2 separate regions of the Homo sapiens genome follow, and region 1 is linked to region 2. Evidence: promoter capture Hi-C in 16 types of primary human blood cells and fetal thymus (Javierre and others, 2016). All regions are on one chromosome and are shown on one strand. The core of a region is centred on a gene start or on the middle of the fragment in contact, and the rest is flanking DNA. Distances in the headings are between cores, read along the strand shown.

Region 1 (3,617 bases), core at 166-2,665, 130 kb before region 2:
CCAGAGGGCAAATTTATATGTTGTTATGGTTTGCAATTCAAGTGTCCAAAACATCGGTTGTTTGGGTTTTTTTTTTTTTCTCCTTGTGATTTAATTTCAGGAAAAGGAGAAGGAATGGCAACGAAGAAGACAACCATCTTCCCCCCCAGACCAAAAGAAGTAGCAGAAACCCTGTCTTTCAGGATTCCTGGGACACAGAGGTAGGAAGTGTGGTCACATAGTCTGTTGTTTTCACTGCTTGAGTTAAATAACCTAGTATCTGCTGTGTAATTAAATTTACTTAAACAGTAATTTAAAATGACCTTAGTTGATTATACTGGTTTAACCTTTCTGTTTCCAAATCAGGGTCCCTTTGAGGAAGCTGTGTACCCTGTCCCCAGCAAAACAGTACATATGTGCACATAGTCATATATGTACACACTCATTTGTATTTGTTAGAAATTTCGTGGCTTTTTGAAAGCCTATGTTTGAACTCACTGTTTTGTATTTCAGCAGCGAACTTCTTTTCTGGTAGTTTATAAACCATGAATTGTCCTTAAGATAAACATATTTTGTTGCTTCAATTCAAATGCCTTTTAAGAGAAACTTTAAGCATGTAAAATATGTAAGGTATGTGTATGCAGAATCCCATTTCTCAGTGTTTTTACTTTTCATTATCTTGTTGTGAAAAGAGCTCCTGTGGTGAGAGGGAAGGGGAGTTGGGTGTTCTGGAACTTTTTTACAATTTTTGATTTCATGAAAGAGTGCTTCAGTACGCAGACTGAGGATACATTTTCTGTGCAATTGGAAGGCTGCTCTGTGCTGGGGAAAGGAAACCAATATAAAGTAATGCTGCTATTAAGTTATGCACCTAGAGATTTTGACCCTTAACAGTTGTCACACTAAGAGAAAAGCCTCAACAACAAAGAGCCCTAGCCTCATAACTCACAGTAGAATTCTCCCACACCCAAATAATTTGTACTTTAATTAGTTCCTGATAATAGGATTTGACCTATATCCAGTCTGTCTTTGCCAGCAATTCAAAGTAACTCCCCCAAGGGGGAAAAATCAGGAACTTTCATGTAGGTAACAGTCATTCAGAGACAGTGAACAAGTGCAGAGTAGAATCCTTCTGTGTGGAGACCTGAGTTTCTATAGCTGTTTTTCCTCTTCAAATATTTTCCTGGCCGAGCGCAGTGGCTCATCCCTATAATCCCAGCCCTTTGGTAGGCCAAGGTGGGCAGATCACGAGGTCAGGAGTTCGAGACCAGCCTGGCCAACATGGTGAAACCCCATCTCTACTAAAAATACAAAAAATTAGCTGGGTGTGGTGGTGCACGCCTGTAATCCCAGCTACTTGGGAGGCTGAGGTGGGAGAATGGCTTGAACCCAGGAGGCAGAGGTTGCAGTGAGCTGAGATCGTGCCGTTTTACTCCAGCCTGGGCAACAGAGCAAGACTCCGTTTCAGAAAAAAAAAAAAAAAAAATATATATATATATATATTATATATATATATATTTTTTTCCTATTTGCTTTTTTCTTTTCTTTTTAAAAAATGATTATCAGAAAGGTAATTGAGCTTTGTTTAATGTAATAGTTGGGAATCTCAGGGATGAAAGAAAACAAGATTAGAGGCTACCATGAATATCTAATGATAAAACCCTGTAATAGTAATTGAGTTTCCATTCTTTTGAATTGTAAGACTATTCATTAAAAGAGTATGCAAAGATTACTTCTATGGTGTTGGCCATCAGTATTTCCTTACTTGTGTCTGTATGTAAGTCCTGCTATATGATGTTCATTTCAGTCAAGGGTATGGTAGGTCTAACTCTCTGTATTAACGTTTTTTTCCCGTATCTGCCAGTTTTGAAGCCTGAGAACAGCAATAGAAATTGCCATCTTTTTCTTGCTTTTGTCTCTTGGTTAAAAAAAAAGAAAGAAATTGTCATCCTTTTTTAAAAAAATTAACATTTCTGATCTCTTAAGTAAGGCAGATATTGTAGATTTTTAAATTTTATTTATTTATTTATTTAGTTTTTGGTACAAAATGACCTTTACTCTCTTTCTAAAATCCGTGCATTGGTCTCACAGAAGAAAACAACGTCTTGTTACTCAACCTCCTGGGTTCTCTAGCTGAGCTTGTCCTTACTTGTCCAAAGAAATTCAGTTGTTGAGCCACTCCGTAATCATTATCTGAAGGAAGGACTAGATTGTCTTCCTTATCGTTTAAGGTCATTACTGGTAGTTTCTGTCTGAACTCACTGGTAGATCACCTAATGGGGTGTTACAACCATTAGTTTCAGCCTTGCTTACTGAACATTGACCAGAATAGCCTGCTGTGCCGTCCTGTGCTGTCCTGTCCTGTCCTATCCTATGCTGTCCTGTCCTGTCCTGTGCTGTGCTGTGCTGTGCTGTGCTGTGCTGTCCTGTCCTGTGCTGTGCTGTGCTGTGCTGTCCTGTCCTGTCCTGTCCTGTCCTGTCCTGTCCTGTCCTGTCCTGTGCTGTGCTGTCCTGTCCTGTGCTGTCCTGTCCTGTCCTGTCCTGTGCTGTGCTGTGCTGTGCTGCGCTGTGCTTCCTGGCAGTGGTATTAACAAGTAACAAGGACAAGTGAATGATGAGAGAGCCAGAGAAGCAAAAGGCAGAGGGAATATCTTTTAAAATGGAAAGTTAAGCCCCAAATAATGAAGTTTTCACTACTGGAATAAATGATTATGTTTGTAGCAGCAAAAAATCAAGTTTAGGGACATTTGGCTGGTTTTTGATGATTGTGTATAAAAGGGAAAATAAAACAATTCATTTTTAATTATATTAACAATTTAGACAAAATATTTTATTAATAACATTACTAATGAAAATGTTTTCTTTTAATTCTGAGGTAGGGCCATGAGGTCAGTTTCCTTGAAACTTAAGTTATGTAAGAGAAACCATTTCCTATGTTTTCCCTGAATGAATAAGCTTTGTCACCCAGACTGGAGTGCAGTGGTGTGATCTCAGCTCACTGCAACCTCTACCTCCCAGGCTCAAGCAATACTCCTACATCAGCCTCCCAAGTAGCTGGAACTACAGGCACATGCTACCATGCTGGGTTAATTTTTTAAGGTTTTTTTTTTTTTTTTTTTTTTGGAGAGACGACGTCTCACTATATGGCCCAGGCTGGTCGTGAACTCTTGGGCTCAAGCGATCCTCCCACCTCAGCCTCCCCAAAATGCTGGGATTACAGACTTGAGCCACCATGCCTGGCTAGAATTCCCTTCCTTCCTTCCCTCTGTTCTCCCCTCCCCTTCTCTCCCCTACCTTCTCATCCCCTCCCCTCCACTTTCTTCTCTTCCCCTCCTTCCTCTCTTCCTTTCTCCCTCCCTCCCTTCTTCCCTCCCTCCTTTCCTTCCTCCCTTTCTTTCTTTTCTTTCTGGCAGGGGCTCCCTCTGTTGCCCAAGCTGAGTGCAGTGGAATGATCATGGTTCACTGTAGCCTCAACCTCCTGGGCTCAAATGATCCTTCCTCTTCAGCCTCCTGAGGTGCTGGGACTACAGGGATGTGCCACCAAACCTGGCTAATTTTTTTAATTTTTTGTAGAGACAGGGTCTTGCTGTGTTGCCCAGGCTGGTCTTGAACTCCTGGCCTCTGACCCTCCTCCACTG
Region 2 (3,719 bases), core at 95-2,594:
CGGGGCATATTTATAGTAATAAATGACGTTATTTTTCTGAAATTCAAATTTAATCAGGCTTTTTTTTTTTTTTTTGAGATGGAGTTTTGCTCTGTTGCCCAGGCTGGAGTGCAGTGGCGTGATCTTGGCTCACTGCAAGCTCGGCCTCTCGGGTTCACGCCATTCTCCTGCCTCAGACTCCCGAGTAGCTGGGACTACAGGCGCCTGCCACCACGCCCAGCTAATTTTTTGTATTTTTAGTAGAGACGGGGTTTCACCGTATTAGCCAGGATGGTCTCGATCTCCAGACGTTGTGATCTGCCCGCCTCGGCCTCCCAAAGTGCTGGGATTATAGGCGTGAGCCACAGCGCCCAGCCCAGGCATCTTGTTTCTATCTATTTATTTATTTTGTTTTGTTTTTGGCTAAATCTAGTCAATCCTATCCTCTGGTCTTTTCACAGAAATCCTGCAGATCAAAGCCTTTGACCTAGGGCAGTGCTTTTCAAAGGGTGGTCCCAGGACAGCAGCATCAGCAACTCCTAGCTCAAAACAAGATCTCAGGCCAGGCGCGGTGGCTCATGCCTATAATCCAGCACTTTGGGAGGCCCACACGAGTGGATCATTTGAGGTCAGGGGTTCGAGGCCAGCCTGGGCAACGTGGTGAAACCCCGTCCCTACTAAAAAAAAAAAAAAAAAAAAAAAAAAACAAAAATTAGCGGGGCTTGGCAGCATGCACCTGTGATCCCAGCTACTCGGGAGGCTGAAGCAGGAGAATCGCTTGAACATAGGAGGCAGAGGCTGCAATCACCCGAGATTGGGCCACGGCACTCCAGCCTGGGCGAAAGAGCGAGACTCCATCTCAAAAAAACAAAAGCAAAAACAAAAAAATCCCAAAATGTCAGCCCCACCCAGAATGACGGAACCAGAGCCTCTGGGGGTGCTGGCATTTTGTGTTTGACCCCCTCCAGTGATTCTTTTGAGGGTCATTGACTGGAGAATGATGCCGATGCCATCACATTACCCGCCCCCAGCCTCTCCCGCAACACACACACAGCACATCCTGCTCTGCTGCGCACCCAGTGGCATGGACCTGGCTGCCAAAGGTGTAGAAGCATAAGTAACATCAGGGGTGTTACAAAGGGCTCTTTCCTTGGGTGTTTGTAGCTTCCCTTAGGGCTGCAGTCACTCGCAGACTGCTGGGCTCTTGGCCTCAGGGCTCTGTTCTGCCCGCCCAGATCTGTTCCTGAGCCTGCAGACGGCTGTGAACCAGAGAATCTATTCTTCAGGCGGGAGTTGCCAGTTGCGGCCAAGGGGGCGGGGCCCGGAGGCGGGAGGGCCACGTGTGCGGGAGGGAAGCAGGAAGTGACTGCGGGAGTGGAGCCGGCGAGAGAGTGGCAGCGGGGGCTGATGGAAGTGCAGTGGGGGCTGGAGAGGGCACCCTAGTGAGTTGGCTTTTCTCTCCTTCGGTGCCTTTGGTTGGGCTCGAGGCCCGGGGTCGGAGGCCATCAGGACAAGAGTGTGGGACTTGGAAGGGCAGCCACCTGGAGCTTGGAAGGGGGTACGCCTGGAGAGAGGAGGGGTTTGGAGGAGAAATTGGAGGCTTTGGCAGGTGTCGGGGCGGGGTGGGAGGGTGAGGGGCGGTGGGAAGGAAGTCCCCGGACCCCGGCTATGTCCCTCTCCAGGGTGATCTGGAAGGCAATGACATGCCTTCCTTTTACAGTCCTAACCCAAATCCTCTTCGTTCGTCCCTTCCTAGGCGGTGTGTGGGGGTACCCGGGATTCCTGGGAGCAGAGGCAGCTACAAATCCAGCTGCTCCCAGGCCCCTCCCACTTGCTCTGGCTGTTAGCTGGACCTCTGGAACTTGACTGGGAATCTGGTTAACTTGCAGCAGGTCTGGGTGGGGCGTGACAGTGTGCATTTCTAACTAATTCCCAGGTTGGGTGGTCCGCGGACCACGCTTTGAGTAGCGAGGCATTAGAGAACTTTTCCACAGTCCTCTCCGCCCAGACCTGAATCCTTCTGCTGGATTCCCCCTCGTGGAGTTAGGGCATGTGTGTGCAGCTCCACTAAGGCCCAGCAGCCCTAGTGCTGTTTCCACTTCTGCAACTTCACCAGCCTCTTGAACTGACTCTTGGAAGCGGAACAACAGGTTTAAAAGGGGGAGAAAGGAAATAAAGAAAACAAACCTGTATCAATCAGCCGGGAATGCCCATGTGCTGCTGTGGCAGGTGTGTACAAGTCTACAGGCTGTTGGCATGTTAAAAGTTGGAACGGTCAGAGAATGATTCTCCCTGCTGCTAACGAATCAGGGTTGATGGAATTAATATCCCCATCGTGAGGAATTCTGAGCCCCATTGTGTAAGCTGTGATGGAGATGCTGTGTCCTAAAGTTGTTACTGGTCTGCCGGTTAGAGAAAACTTCTTGTTCTCTTGGGACTCTGCCAGAAACTTTTTCTTCTCTTGAGACTCTGCAGAAAACTTTCTGTTCTTTTGGGACTCTTCTTTGCTCTTGCCAATCCCACATGGGGCAGGAGAACTCATTTTCTAAGCTCTTGGTATTGTAGAAGTTTTACCAGTTTTATTTATTTATTTATTTTTATTTTTTTTTGAGACAGAGCCTTGCTCTGTCACCCGGACTGGAGTGCAGTGGCGCGATCTCGGCTCACTGCAACCTCCGCCTCCCGGGTTCAAGCGATTACTCCTGCCTCAGCCTCCCGAGTAGCTGGGACTACAGGCACTGGGACTACAGGCACACACCACGACGCCCAAGTAATTTTTGTGTTTTTAGTAGAGATGGGGTTTCACCGTGTTGGCCAGGCTGGTCTCGAACTCCTGACCTCAGGTGATCTGCCCGTCTTGGCCTCCCAAGGTGCTGGGATTACAGGCATGAGCCACTGCGCCTGGCCAAGTTTTACCAGTTTTAATCTTTTGCTTTCCACAGTTTAATGTGCATAAGAATCCCCCATGGAATTCCACAAAATGCAGACCCTGATTCAGAAAGTCTGGGGTGAGACCTGAGTTTCTGCATTCCTAACTAGCTCCCAAGCCGGACCAGTGCTGCTGGTTCTCTGACCACCCTTGTAGCGAGGATTTAAAACAGCAAATAGAGAAGAAACTTCTCCGAGGGGCACTGGGCTTGCATTGCCCGTGATCAATGCTGCTCCTGTTGGGATGGAAAGGATGGTGGCCTCGGTCTTCCCTCTGTGTCCCTTTTTCTTACTCAGGAGGGTGCTCAGATATACATGGGGACAGGCTTAGACGGGTGTTTCCCTATCCCACTAACCACCAGGAACACCCACGAGCTCCCTCTGTTCTGTTCACCAGCCCACAAGATCCACATTGACTTTGGCCTGTTGGCAAATGTAAATTGTTTGCTCTCTTCTGTAGCTGTCAAGAGGCACATTCAAATACAGGAAAGAAAGGTGTTTTTGTTATGCCCTGTCTTGGATGATAAGTACTAAGAGGATGATCCCTTTGTGCTGTTCTTTGTAAATGCTGTTTGAAATTTTGTCCACAGCAACTCGGAATAGATGATTGGTGTAATGGTCCAGATGGCTTGGTTTAAAAACAAAGACCAACCCCTCTTTTTAGGGTGGCTTAGCAAGATGACGGATGTAAAGGGTAGTAGTTTTTTGAAAATGATTTTTTTTTTCTTTAATTGGCGTGGTCACAGTTTTCACAGTTGGTGCAGTTCGTTTAGAGTGCGGGAACTAGAGTCTGATTCCATAGATGCTATTTA

Evidence for each region. Contacts are between HindIII fragments. The CHiCAGO score rates a contact against its expected background, and 5 or more counts as called.
Region 1: a contact is called between a fragment that was not itself captured here and the fragment with the promoter of SLC39A11 in region 2, in 1 of 17 cell types (neutrophils). The highest score is 5.2, in neutrophils.

The regions. Positions count from the first base shown.
Region 1 is chr17:73,223,748-73,227,364 of GRCh38, reverse strand. VCF1 (VCP nuclear cofactor family member 1) reads left to right here. Exons shown (of 4, transcript NM_001098832.2): 2 at 101-200. Among named protein-coding and RNA genes, the nearest start is that of VCF1, 6.8 kb to the left of the region's middle. The HindIII fragment of the contact is 3,043 bases long and covers 1-2,936 here.
Region 2 is chr17:73,090,313-73,094,031 of GRCh38, reverse strand. SLC39A11 (solute carrier family 39 member 11) reads left to right here and starts at 1,344. Exons shown (of 10, transcript NM_139177.4): 1 at 1,344-1,421. RefSeq lists a silencer at 2,184-2,415 and an enhancer at 3,386-3,719. The HindIII fragment of the contact is 20,423 bases long and covers 1-3,719 here.